Linked DNA regions of Homo sapiens: region 1 is linked to region 2. Evidence: promoter capture Hi-C in human tissues and cell types (Jung and others, 2019). All regions are on one chromosome and are shown on one strand. Each heading gives the region's core, a stretch centred on a gene start or on the middle of the fragment in contact. The rest is flanking DNA. Distances are from core to core; before and after follow the strand shown.

Region 1 (7,608 bases), core at 3,649-6,148, 210 kb before region 2:
TCTACTAATAATATAAAAAATTAGCTGGCCGTGGTGGTGCACGCCTATAGTCCCAGCTACTTGGGAGGCTGAGGCAGGAGGATCGCTTGAACCCGGGAGGCAGAGGTTGCAGTGAGCTGAGATTGTGCCACTGCACTCCAGCCTGACCACAGAGCGAGACTTTGTCTCAAAAAACAAAAACAAAAACAAAAAGAAATCTTACACTGTTTTCAGAAATCACACTTTTAGCAATGATATCAATATTAATTATTCTAAAATATATATAGTAAGGCAAGTAAGTAATTATGTTAATATTGTCTGCAACCAAGATTTTAGGTAGAAGAGAGAAGATAGATAAATATAAAATCAAAGGAGCTAAATTTTAAAAAACGCTGTGATACTAAATTCAAGTTCAAAATATTAGTATGAACTCACGATGCATTTTCTTTAAAGTAGTGTTTTCAATTCTGTCCACTGAAAAAAGCTGGGAACAATGACCAATTCTTAAGCAATGGGCAGCCCTAAAGCCAGCTTATAATTTTTTTTTTTTTTTTTTTTGAGACAGAGTTTCACTCTTGTTGCCCAGGCTGGGGGGTGCAGTGGCACAATCTCAGCTCACCACAACCTCCGCCTCCCAGGTTCAAGTGATTCTCCTGCCTCAGCCTCCCAAGTAGCTGGGATTACAGACATGTGCCACCACACCCAGCTAATTTTTGTATTTTTAGTAAAGACGGGGTTTCACCATGTTGGTCAGGCTAGTCTCAAACTCCTGACCTAGTGATCCGCCTGCCTTAGCCTCCCAAAATGCTGGGCCTGGCCCTATAATTTTGAAAAATCATTGGAAAATGATATTTAAAGGAATCAAGCCTCCTTGGAGAAATTGCTGACCATAGTTCTGGGGCAGGAAAAGTACATGTGCCTAGCACATTTGACATACCAGACACCAAGGAATTTACTAAAAACTGTGATTGTTTCGAAGCATTTAGAAGCCAAAATTAAGTGGCTATCACTTGGAAAGTATGGAAAAATTTGAGAACAAGTAAGAACAATGACTTTGATGAATTTAAACAAATCAAATGTGTTAAAATCCATGAGATCATAATTACACTTGACAGCAAATACTCACTGACCACCTTTAGTGGATGCCAGGGAACCACATTATAAACATGAAAATACGGGGCAGGAATCAAGGGTTTTGCCTGTCCTTGCTGTATAAACAGTGTATCAGGGTAATTTTTCAAGGTAAAGTTTCTCTTTATGTAAGTCTCTCAAATAATAAATTAAGGAATGATAGAATTAAAATATTGCCATTTTGCAACCCCTACTGAAATAATGGATGTAAACAAAGACCATCAGCAGCTGCTGCATCACAGAGACAACTGGTCCGTATGCGTCTCCTAAGAGAAGTATGCGATACTTCTAATGGAGGATTCTTGGCAAATAAGTTGGACTTGAATCAGCTCAAACTTCCAATTCTAGAGTCTAGCATTTATAAGAAACGCTGGTCAGAAAAAAACGGTTGCAGATGAAATGCACTTCAGGGTTGCAATCAGCAAAATACCAAATGTGAGAAACTGCAGGACAATGCCTCTGCTTCTTCCATATATAAACTGAAAAACAAAGGAGAGAAGAAACCTGTACATTAAAAAAAAAATTCAAAAGAATGTTGAAACAAACCAACTCTCAAAAAATAAAAAAGGAAAAAAATAATACAATTAGAGAAATTTGAATGTCATCTATTTTTAAGTATGATAATGGTTATGTGGTTTTAGTTTTTAAGAAGAGTTCTTATCATTTACCAATACATATGGACATCGTTATGGACAAAATGGTTTGCTGCCTTGGATCTGCCTCAAAAGAATCCATTTGGGTTGAACGGGGTGGCTAGTGTGGTGTGGGGAAGCAGAGATAAAATAAGACTGGGCATGAGCTGATTCTTCCCTACGCTGGGTGATGGCATACGGGGGTTCATTAACTCATTACATTATTCTCTCTACTTTTGCTTATGTTTTAAATTTTCTATTAAAAATATCAAAGTGTGAAAAATCACACACACACACACACAAACACACATCCTGCTCTTGTTTTTGAACCGAGGGTCTGGGTCAATAATTGGGTGAATGGTGATTTTTATAAAATAACAAAGTAATTTACCTCCTTAAGGATAAAAATGAACATGTTCTCACTGGAAAGCTGCCCAAGAAGAGACTACTCAACCATAGTACCATGTGCTGAATTTTCTTTATTTCACATTCTTGATCTGGCCTTACAGAAAATTTGAGTGAACATTTCTGAATTAGAAGGAAAAATTTGGAAGTCGAAGTACTAAAATGAGTATTGAAGCATGAGAACTGTTCTACCTTGTCAGCATCTGAATAGTGTAAAATCGCTCCTCTGAGCTGGGATTCACGTCCAGGTGGGTGCAAAGTGAAACAGAAATAGCACATGCAGGCACAAAGCCAGTGGCCTGGGAGTGAGGGGGGATGGAGGGAAAATGGGAAGATTGTCCACTTGAGACTAAGCCTCCAGAATCTGCAGGAATTTTGGGGATCATTGCAGCATAATTTAAAGTTCTAGAGAGTTTTGTCTGAATCTCCATTGGTCAGGGAAATCTGAGCTGATGACAAGGTTACAAACAATTATACCACATGCCATTTGTAAATTATCATTCCAGACGATGTACTAAGCAGTTTACATTAATTGCCTCGTTGAACCTTTATAACTCTCTTGCCCCAACAACCATGACACAGATATTATCATCACATTTTGACAGAAAAGAAGAAGGTCCAGGGAAATTGAGTAACTTATTCAAGGTCACACAGCTGGTGAGTGATGTAGCTTGTCCTCTAACGTAGGGCAGCCTGCCTGCAAAACTCTTTCCCCACTGTCTGCGTTTCACTTGCCATGGAGCAGCACTTTATGGACACCAGTGGTTGGTGTCGCTGCAGGGGTCATACACAGAGCATTTCCTGGGTCAAAATTCTAATCCTTGCAAGAAAGACAATAGCATATTCAGGAAATCCAGTGAGTTCTGAAGACAGATCATGCCACAGTCATTTATCTAGGCAGCAAATGTAAAAGTGTTCAGAGAGCCTGGCAGGTGCTGGTGAAAAACAAAAAAAAAAGAATGTGTATTTCCCAGCTCCTTTTTCCCATTATCTTATATCACTTTTAAATAGCTCATGAAGGATATTTTAGACAAATTCAGCCCCTTTTCCCCTGTGGCAAGTAATGCAATAAAAGCTAATTGATTTAGCATCCTATTGATTAGAAAGCAGGGATACAATACAATGAGAACTGATGACCACAAACATGACTCAAACGCGGCCAGATATCCTAAAGAAGTTTATGACTCATCATCAAAACACAATTATATTCCAAAGAGGCCAAGCATTAAATGTATTTTATTGAGTTAAGTTTATCTGACACTGTTCAGCCACAAATGGTCATGTGAAATCCATAGAACCAGAATACCTGATTAGCCAGAATAACACATTCTCAGACCACGCTGGCTTTTCTACCATTGGATCTAGACAAACATGACCCTCTGCAGCATACATATTTACTGCATCACTTGAAGATTGTGGAGAAGATAGACTTAGAGCTGAACTGGAAAGTATATGACAGAAAAATGTCTGGAGACAGTTATTTCATAATATATCATTTCTAAGAAGAAATTAAGCACTATAATTTGCGAGCCTGCAGTGATGCCTCAATGCATTGAGTAAGGTCTCTGGCATCAATTATGTTTAAGTAATAACATATGTAAAGGGCCTGTGTCTGCCCAAACTGTCAAGGGCTCCTAAGTGGCATCTATTGTTATTATTATCATATTATAATTATTAAATCATGATGCTTATCTTATAGGTACTTATAATAGAACTAGGTTGGTAGAAACTGGCTTGTGTTGTCTTTTATCTTCAAAAGTGGAATAGGTGTGTGTCTTTGGTCTTACTTTGAGTTAAGATTCACTTAAACGTAGTGCAATCTAATAATCACCAAACGATTCCTTCATTTTCTGCTTTTAATTTATCTCAAACAAGCAAATAAATGAAAAGCAGGCATGAGACAAAAAGGCTATTCCACAAAATCTCTGCGGAAAAAGGGCTGTGAGCCCAGTTGTTGAGTGAAGTTCCTCAGTCCAGAGAAGGCAGCAGAGAATGCCAATGTTGGCGGGGTGCAGTGGCTCACGCCTGTCATTCCAGCTTGGGAGGCCAAGGCGGGCAAATTGCTTTGAGCTCAGGAGTTCGAGACCAGTTTGGGCAACATGGCAAAACTGCATCTCTACAAAAAAATACAAAAATTAGCAGGGTGTGGCCACCATGTGCCTGTAGTCCTAGCTACTCAGGAGGCTGAGATTGGAGAATCGTTTGAGCCTGGGAAGCAGAGTCAAGATCGTGCCACTGCATGCCGGCGTGGGTGACAGAGTGAGACCCTGTCTCAGGGAAAAAAAGAGAGAAAGAGAGAATGCCAATGTTCTCATTGTCTCTCGTATCTCTCTGAGTCAGTGCTCTCCAGAGAAACAGAGCCAATAGGATATGTATCTCTACACAGAAAGATTTCTTTTAAGAAATTGGCCCATGCAATTACAGGCTAGCAAATCTAAAATCCGCAGGGTGGGCTGGTTGGCTGAAGACCCAGGAAAAGCCAGCGTTTTGGCTGGAGTCCGAAGGCCAGCTGTCTGCTGCAGAATTCCATCTTGTTGGAGGAAGTCAGTCTTTTGTTCTTTTCAGGCCTTTGACAGATCAGATGAGGCCCACCGGTACTAGGGAGGGCAACCTGCTTTACTCACGGTGCACAGATTAAAATGGTAATTTCATCCAAAACACCCTCACAGAAATATCCAGAATTGTGTTTGACTGCATACCTGGACACCATGGCCCAGCCAAGTTGATACAGAAAATTAACCATCATAATCTCTAATCTCTCCCTCCTTCCCTCTGTCTCTGTCTCCATCTCTCTCTCTCTCTCTCTCTCTCTCTCACACACACACACACACACACACACACACACGAGCAAAGTTTATCACAAAGTAAGGAAGAAATGCAGGGTGCAGTGGCTCACGCCTGTAACCCCAGCACTGTAGGAGGCCAAGGTGGGCGGATCACCTAAGGTCAGGAGTTCGAGACCAACCTGGCCAACATGGCAAAACCCCATCTCTACTAAAAATACAAAAATTAGCCAGGCATGGTGGCACACGCCTGTAGTCTCAGCTACTCAGGAGCTGAGGCAGGAGAATCTCTTGAACCCGGGAGGCGGAGGTTGCAGTGAGCCGAGATCGCGCCATTGCACTCCAGCCTGGGCAACAGTGTGAGACTCCATCTCAAAAAACAAACAAAGTGAGGAAGGAAGCATCAAGGTGTGATGCCAACCACCAGGGCTATCTTGAGACCCTCGGAGAAGTCCATACCTGAGGAGAGGAGCACTGAGCATTATTGCATCAATTCCAAGTAGGACTTCATCTCTTCTTTCATGAGAAAAATAATTCATCGATTCTGAAAAACAGCATTCATTATCTACCTACGATGCCATTTTTAAAACGTCTCAGGTAAATATTGTTCTATCCCCATCTCACAGATAAAGAAACTCTTTTCAATTAAGTGACTTGCCCCAGCATCCATTGCTAAAAGATGGAAGAATCTAAATTTCAACACAAGTCCTCAAATGTCTCTTGTGATTTCTCTCCATGCTGCCCCACAGGTAAGGAAAACAAGAATGTCAGCAAATGTCTGTAACAGAAGAAACCTGCGATGTTGAGCGTGGAGTAGTACACTTTGTTCCAGGATTCCATCTCTGGTTAGGGGATGTGTGGGAAGGAGCACTCACAGACAGATATGCATCCAAGCCCATGGCCTGCAAACCAGAACCTCTCCTGCTAAAGAGATTTGTAGATGCTTATGGGAGCAAGAATTGCCCAACCTACCACACTCTCTAGGCAAATGTCATCTGTTGGAGATTCCGACTGAGGTCCTGGAAGGGCTCCCACATGGGCCATCTGCCAGGCCTCTGATGTCGGCCAACTGCCAAGCTTAGGCTAACGGTTGCTTGTAGTTGGTGGCAGAGCTATTCCAAAGAACTACTGAGATGCAGGCAACTGATGACAGGGCTGCTCTTTTGTCTCTCTAGCTGGCCCCGCACAGTACCCTAAGCGACCCACTCCAGGGCTCCCCTTGGGAAACCATGTCCGTGGATCATGCTTAGCACTGCCCTTGTTCTAGCCGTGCGTGGTGGCGCGTGACCGTAATTCCAGCTACTCAGGAGGCTGAGGCAGGAGAATTGCTTGAACCCGGGAGGCGGAGGTTGCAGTGAGCTGAGATTGCACCACTGCACTCCAGCCTGGGTGACAGAGCAAGACTACATCTCAAAAAAAAAAAGGATAAAAAAGAACTGCCCTTGTTCATGGCTGGATGTTCAGAGGGTGGAAAAATGGAAAAGGTGGTTGTTATAGAAGCACTTGAGCTGTGTGCTTTTAAAGTTTGGGTTGGGATTAGTTCTGGGAACGTGGTCTACCTTCTTTCTTCCTCCTGTGCCCTCTTTCGACCCACCCCACAACTTTGTATATCAAATGGCAAAAAGAATCCTATTCCTGCCTTAGTTCATTATCTGACCTTCAGTAGGACCAGAGGCCTGGGAAATGGGGGCGAGGCCGAGTGTGTGGTAGAACCACAGGCATTCTAGATGCAGACATGAGTGAGAATCACACCCCAGTCCATGGCATGTCACCCACCTGGTACTTCAGAGGAAGCTAGTTCTGCCACGGCCACCTCCTAGTGAAAGCGACACAGGAGGGCCTGCCTTCCCCTCTGCAGTGCCTCTCGCTGCAAACACTTGACCAGTGCACATTTGCCAAAGTTCTGAATGTCAGAGCCAAGCTGAAAACCAGTGCAAGATCAGTCCATCTAAGTCAAGGCAGCTATGTGCATGTCCTAAATTATAGTTGCAGAGGGGTAATCCCAGGCTGTTTAGTACAAAGATAATGATCAGAAACTAGGAAAATGGTTGCTTTAATTCAAAAACCACATTGCTAGCAATAAGGTGATAACCATGACAAGATTCCTGTACAGAGGGTCCTGCACCAGGAAAAAGATAACATTAACTCATTCCGATCTGAAAGCATTAGCCATGATGTACTTACTATTATTACTATTTTCTAGTGAGGAAACTCTGACCTAAGGAGCATAAGTAAACTTCCACAAAGTAACTCAGCTAGTGAATTGGTACCACCAGGATTTGAAGCCAGGAAGTCTGATTCCCAAGTCTAAAAACGTAACCACTCTATTATATGGCATTCTGATTGTATAATGTTTTTGTGCTTATGAGGCATTGTCAGGCCTGCTGTCTGTTGAGATTTATCATTTTTTTAATTCCTCCATCTTATTTTGCGTAATAGTATCACATCCATTGGTTTATAATAAAGACTATAATAAAATTGTATGTCTTCTGGCCAGGCATAGTGGCTCACGCCTGTAATCGCAGCGCTTTGGGAGGCTGAGGTAGGAGAATTGCTTGAAGCAAGGAGTTCAAGTCCAGCCTGGGCAACAAGGCGAGACCCGTCTCTACTAAAAATTTAAAAAAAAAAAAATAGCTGGGCACAGTGGTGTGCACCTGTAGTCCAGCCTGGGCAACAAA
Region 2 (7,014 bases), core at 3,473-5,972:
AGCTGCTGCCTTCTTTTCAATCCATCCCTCTTCTCCTGAACATACAATCCAAAATTTTTTTGATTTTCTAAAATTATCTGATGCTCCTCTTTCAACATTTGCAGGATCTGAGGATCATACCCTAATAGTGACCTAAAGTGTTCACCACTCTCATGCCGAAAAAAATCATCTCTCCTTGGAATAGAAGATGGAGACGATGTCATTCTCATATCAACAGAGGAAAGTGAAGGCGACAAGGATCTTTCCATAACATGTACTAATTCATGTTCTTCTCTTTGCTCTAAAGTATCACTCTGTTGAGAATTTAAAACCAGTGGAGGAGGTGGTTTAATGTCTTCTTCTTGCTTCACCTCCACTGTAATAGCAACAGGATGGTGATCCAACATTACCTGTAGTGAACTGGTACCAGCCTGTGCCTCCTCATCCAAGTTTGCACTATAGCACACAAAAAAGCATTATAATATGTAAATCAAATGAAGAAAAAGTGTATATTTATAGCATAATTTTAATTTAATGTACATTAAATGATAAAGCTTTAAAACTATAAAGTTACAAAATAAAAAAAAATCTTAAACACTTGAAATACATTAAAGTGACTAAGATTGGGATTTCAATAATACATACTCACAGATCTCCCCCATCCTTAACTTTAAAATTGTGCTTTAAAGGAGCAGGAAATTACAAATATTATAGAAGGCCAATGAAGAAAATAAAAAGAAAAGCCAGTTTTCATGTTGTCAAACAGACACCAATCTTTCCCACAACCCTAAGGTTTTCAAATGGTGTACAGAGCCATTTAATGCATTCTCAGTCTTGTTATCCCCATACCTTAGCCCTAGACCTCAGGCTTCTGCTCTCCTGGACTGATCTTAAAACCATGAAGGCCCATAACTTATAAAAGGACAGTGAAAGGCCATCTATGGGAGGTACTGATTTCTGCATTTGCCCAAAAAATAAAACATAAAGATTGTATATGGCTTTGGGATATGCTCAACTACTGGAGGTTATCCTAACTTTCTTATTTCAGATGCTTTTATCTGATAGGAAAAACTTCCGTTTTACCTATTCTGAACCATATGACTCAGATGCTGTTTAAGTCTTTCAATCACTGGTCAGGTAAAGTTCACAAGAGCAATGGTTTTAATCCACAACTGTATACTCAGTACCTAGCAGGTACTGTACTTAGAACCTAGTAGGTGCTCATTATGTGTTGAATGACTGAAAAAAAACAAACTAAATGATTTTTTAATGAAACATTTTTAATGGCCTATACAGATATATTAAAGGTTTATTAAATTTACACATAATTTCCACCAAATATGCATTCCCAATGGAGACAACTACAGCTTTAGCATAATTTAAGCTTCAGCATAACAAGTTATGATATTATAAATGCAATAAACCTTAAAATTCTGTTTTATAAACATAATTTTATGTATAACGTGAAGCTGTGAATTAAGAATATCTGCTCCTTGAGGTTGTTTTTTTTAATTTATGCTTCTGCCTAACTTAAAAATAAAAGTTATAAAGGGAAATTAGATCATTGAACATGAATGGAAATACTTTATTTAATATTATTTAGAGAAGATTTTACATATAATAAGAAACATAATTAAAAGAATACATTCTACATGGATGATTAAAATGCTGGAACAAGTTCAAGCAGAATGCATAGAAAAAGATTAAAACTACCCATACGTTACTTACTAATGCCATTAAATTGCCAGAAATATCAGATATTTATCTAAGAGACAAAATGAAACATATATAGTATATAATAAAAAATCTATTTGTAGGTTATATAAATTCATTTTTGTTCTTGTCTCTGTTTGTGTCATTTTATTATTTCCAAAAACAAAACAATTAATTATAAATGTAATTCAAAGTAGCAAGCTCTGCTTCTATTAATAGCTCTGCTAAAACCTGGAATGGGAAAAGGCTAAAATTGCATATGAAAATTAAGTTTTTAAAACCACATAATTACTATTTCAAATTAGTATGTAAAATAGAGAGTATAAACATAGACATAATACTACCAAGTAAATTAAAAATATGCCTCATATCTGGAACATTCCTTTCCATTTTAGCTAAAACATTACAACTAAGGCATAACAATATAAAAAGGGAGAAAAAAAGCTTTAGAGCAGGTCACAAAAATGACAGAGAAGGACTTGAGAATCAGAACTTTGAAGATCAGTTTACAAAAACACAAAATATAAACTGATATTAGGAAGAGGTAAAAATAAAGACATAAGTCAATGTGAGTTACAGAAAATAAATAGCCTTACAAAACAGGTATATATTTTTAAGTATGTTAACGCAAACACTAGTATTTTCCTTATTAAAAAGGAAGAGTTTGGTAAGATTAACAGGCATATTTATGTAGAAGTATAGTTAAGATTATAGAATAATTATAAACTTCTGAGATTATTAAGATTCAAGGATGATATCAATCAAATAAATATAAGCACATTAAATATATATATTAAAGAAATAAGCTAATACAGAGAAAATGTCAATGTAGACACAGTAACATAAGAATTTAAAAGGCATGTTTCTTATATTCTTCCCTTTAAAACCTAACAAATTGGTATTATTTAAGCCATAGGTATAGAAATGTACAAATCAACTCATTTTTATCAGAGAAATGTTCATATCCCAAAAGATTTTTTGTGTGTGAATATTGTAAATATTCACACACACAAATAGTCAAAATGTAACCAGATACTTGTATATTTATATATTATTTTTCTTCTACTCACTGTTATTTTTAAAATATGCAACTAACTAAAATTACAGTTTCTACATGTCGTTTTCAAATTATAAAAACCTATACCTACTAACCAAAGGGTACAGTTTTATACCTGCGATGCAAAAAACACTTTTCTCCATGGTTCAAGGGAGAGAAAATTCTGCATAAGTAGCACAGTATAAAACAATTTTACTGCGTAGTTTTCTGGATATCTAGCTATTGGGATTTCATCATTTGTCATCACAGTGAACATTTTAACCAGTGGCCCCAAGAATTAATCCACTGTGTATTCATGTCCTGGATTCCCACTGGTGATATTTTTTTTACTGTGCTATCAAGTAGAAATAAGCAGTATCTGGTAAGAAGCTAGGCTCAAAAATACTTTCCTAGTAAATTACCAAAATAACATATGCACTTGGCTACAAAGTGGTTTTTTTCTGCTTCTCTCCTAATTTCAAAGGGATTTCATAGTAATCAATAATTTGCTTATATAATGCCTCTTCCACCAATAGAAAAGCACATTGTGTAAAGCTTTGTTTGAAAGGCTCCTCAAACTAACAAGGAGTTTACAATTTGTTTAAATTACCCTAAATGGTTCAGAATAAGAATGTAGCTGCCATTTTTATATTTTGCCAGAGGTTACAATCTGAATTAGTGGCAAGATAATACTTTTGAAAATTCCAAGGCAAATAGTTACATAGAAGACAAGTTTAACCAAAAAATTGCTTCTAACTCTAAAAAAACCCAGTTGCTCTTAGGGGTATTTTAAAATTCATAATTTGATATCCTTGCAAAGCAGTAAGAGAAAGCTTACTCTTTCCTATACGACCCAAGATCAAAGTGAAACTAGACTATTAAGGAATAAAAACAACAACAACAAAAAACTTTTAATTTTATTAAGTAAACTGAATCCCTAATTAGGCATTAACTCCCTTTAGTTGTGTTCATCTTTATTTTAAACGTGTTAGAAAAATAATTTAAACTGTCTTCATATACACAATCATGCCATTAACAAGTTTACTTATTGATTTTGTTTATATTTGTTAGTTAACATATATTCAATAAGTGTAGACAATGACAATTCATAAAAAAGCAAGGTTCCATTTCTCTAGAAACTGCTAACTTTATATAAATTTTATATAAAATTGAAAATTCCAGTGAAATGTAATCTTAAATGAGAAAAAAAGTATCTCTCAGAAGCAAACTAAATAATTTAATTTTAAAGCTTAAGAAGTTTATGAAGTGATGTCACAAATTTCAACCCACTTATTCCTCCCTAACCTTTACTTTTAGAAACTACAGGAGGGAAGGGGGAGGGGAAGACAGTAAAAAGTAGCTTAAATGCAACAGAAAAATTCCTCATAGCCTCACTTTTCTCTTTTTAAAAAATGCAAAACAAAGACACTATTCATTGCTCCCGTTGTGGGGATGCTTACTATGCATATCTCTATCACGACTAAGCCAAAGCCCAATAGATAGGAGGCGCCATAATTTTCCATAACAAAACAAAATAAAGCTTACCTTTGTATGTGGTTCCTGTCTCTTACCAGGCAAAAACTGGAAATCTGGGGAATCATCTCCATAACTTTCTTGGTTGGCTCAGAAATATTGCTTTTAAAATCTGATTGGGTCTCTTTTTGCTGCAATAGCTCCTGTTTGGCATATTCTTTGAGCCTTTTATAAAGGGTGCGTAGGCCCTGTGCTGTTCGAGGAGGGCGGTCTACTCCAATTGCATTATAGTTAACTGCTATGATATCCCAACATCTATTCTTTTCTACTATTACTGAATGTTTATTAGTGTGTTCTTCGAGAATTTTCACATATGGCTTCACAAGCTTTAGCAAATCAAGCTTTTCGGATAAGGTAAAATTGGAAGATCTAGCCTTTCCTACCATTGTTCTTTTCAAATTAAGTAGGCAGTTTCTGAAACCACCATGCAGCCTTCAGCTCTGCTCAGCTCTTTTCACAAACAGAAAAAGATCAGGCTTAACTAGGCTAGCCTCATTTAGGCCCACGCCTACAGGGGAGGGTTTATTAAAATTCCTCCAGCTTAAGCTGACGCAGGTTCAGGAAATCTGCTTAAGCCAAGCCTGACCTACATAAAGCTTCTCACTGAAGAAGACAGGAAGGCACAAGCAAAACACACTTGTGTATAAAGGGAACAGCTCGAGACAGGATTTAATACACAAAGGTCTAGAGATAAGCATGGAACACAGCTAAAAATTAGCTAATTTAGTGAGAATATCAAATTTCACACATGTATGCCTAGCTGACAGACTGAACTGCATTGCAGTATCACTTTAATAAAAACAAAAGAGGAACTGTTTTGTGCTATTTATTTACAAATCCAGTAGACAGAAAACTAAAAGATATGAGTAGTGAATGTAGTAATTCCTAACAGAGCCTCTCATCACTGTTTCTGAGCTGAGTGTTCTCCCTTACAAAATCTGCATAATGCTGGATCTGCTGTCAATCAGGAATTGCATATCCTCTAGCTAGTTAGGTTACACCCAGACCCAGACTCCACAGTAAAGCTAAGCTTCTCCTTCATTTTACAGTCTACATTAGCCTCTGCATATTTTTTTCACTTAAGAAAAAATTTTTATAGAACACTCAATCTAAAAAGCAGGTAAAAATCATGTTTTTAAAGCAATGGATTATTCTAGCCGTAATGTATGTGAATTTGCTAGCCTGCCTTATCATGTGTAAAAAATCACTGTTCATGGTGAGAAACAGTATAATCACGCCTTAAGACTCCACATACAAAATCACATTTGCTATTATAATAGAGCCAGATTTTTTATTTAGCTATATTCACACAGTTTGGACTATGAAAGGAAACAGCTAGTCTAGCCATTTTCAAGGCCACCAGTTTCGGTGCTTAGAATATATTTGTTAACCCCAGTATGAAAATATATGATACATAATAATGTAAGCAAGACAAACCTATTTTCTCACAATATACATATTTTTCCAGATAGGGGAATAAATTAGAACATACTTGAACATAGTTCTATCCAATAAAACTATTACTGAACAACTGTGATAGTTATTAAGAGGTAGGAAAAATAAATTGTTTTTAATTACTGACCACGTATATAAATGCTCCCAGGCACTGTGCAAGACCCAATGAAATCAAAAATGAATCTAGATACAGCACCTATCCAGGGAACTGTAGTTCCACAGAAATGCTATAAATTCTCAATTATCTTGTTTTTCATTCTTTTAACAATGGAGAAGCAAATTACATTTACTGAGCTCTCACTGTGAGCCAATGTGTTAAAAGCTTTAAGTGTATTATCTTTCAGAAAACAGTGAAAGATTGCTGGATGTTCTACGGAATGCTAGATGTTGTCTGGTATACGCTACTGAGTAATTTGATTCCATAATAGTTCTACCCTTTCATTGTCTTTGAGCAGTTTCACAGCTCTGTAAATTGTAGAAATCAGTAATGCAAATGATTCTTGTCCATAGAGATGCAAAAAGAAAATCGACCTGCCCCAACAACAACTGGACCACAGGTACTCAAAATCATTCTAGCATTTTCTGAGCTTTTGGAACATTAAAAGAGAACCAAAGAAAGAACATAGGGTATATACTTTATTTAGATAATTATTTTGTTATTTTCAGAAGAAATACAGGTATTACAGAACACAGGGTATATACTTTAGATAATTATTTTGTTATTTTCAGAAGAAATACAGGTATTATGTTAAGAATGAAACACTACTAAAATATGAAAAAATGTTCAATCTCACTAGTTATCAGGGAAATGTATACTAAAAATGATTTTCATTCCTAGATTAGCAAAATTTTTTAAGACTTAAAATGCCAAGAGTGAGGCCAGGCTCAGTGGCACATGGGCCTGTAATCCAACAGTTTTGAGAGGCCAAGGATTACTTGAGCACATGAGTTCAAGACCAGACCGGGCAACATGGAGAAACCCCATGTCTACAAAAAATACAAAAATTAGCCAGGTGTGGTGGCATATGCCTGTAGTTCCAGCTATTCGGGAACCTGAGGTGGAAGGATCACTTGAGCTCAAGAGGTTGAGGCTGCACTAAGCCATAATCATGCCACTGCACTCCAGCCTCGGTGACAGAGCGAGACCCTGCCTCAAAAAAAGAAAAAAAAGAAGACTCCAAGAGTGGAAAAGGATAGAAGGGAAAGAGTACTCTTCTGTACCACTGAAGGGAGTGTAAAATGACATTTTGGATGGTGATCTGGAAGTATCTACTAATATTTTACATGAGTAGGAAATC

The links. The method cuts DNA at HindIII sites, captures the fragments that hold promoters and counts their contacts. A contact is called where the count stands out against the background at its distance.
Region 1: a contact is called between a fragment that was not itself captured here and the fragment with the promoter of FSBP in region 2, in 1 of the 25 tissues and cell types used here (hippocampus).

The regions. Positions count from the first base shown.
Region 1 is chr8:94,221,333-94,228,940 of GRCh38, forward strand. LOC105375648 (a long non-coding RNA gene) reads right to left here and starts at 6,757. Exons shown (of 3, transcript XR_928424.4): 1 at 6,707-6,757; 2 at 5,390-5,474; 3 at 3,358-4,263. The HindIII fragment of the contact is 5,893 bases long and covers 1,953-7,608 here.
Region 2 is chr8:94,432,222-94,439,235 of GRCh38, forward strand. It overlaps FSBP (fibrinogen silencer binding protein), which reads right to left and starts at 4,723. Exons shown (of 2, transcript NM_001256141.2): 1 at 4,274-4,723; 2 at 1-435. The coding sequence starts at 4,647. The region is part of intron 3 of RAD54B (RAD54 homolog B); the gene reads right to left. RefSeq lists an enhancer at 2,579-3,079. The HindIII fragment of the contact is 647 bases long and covers 4,428-5,074 here.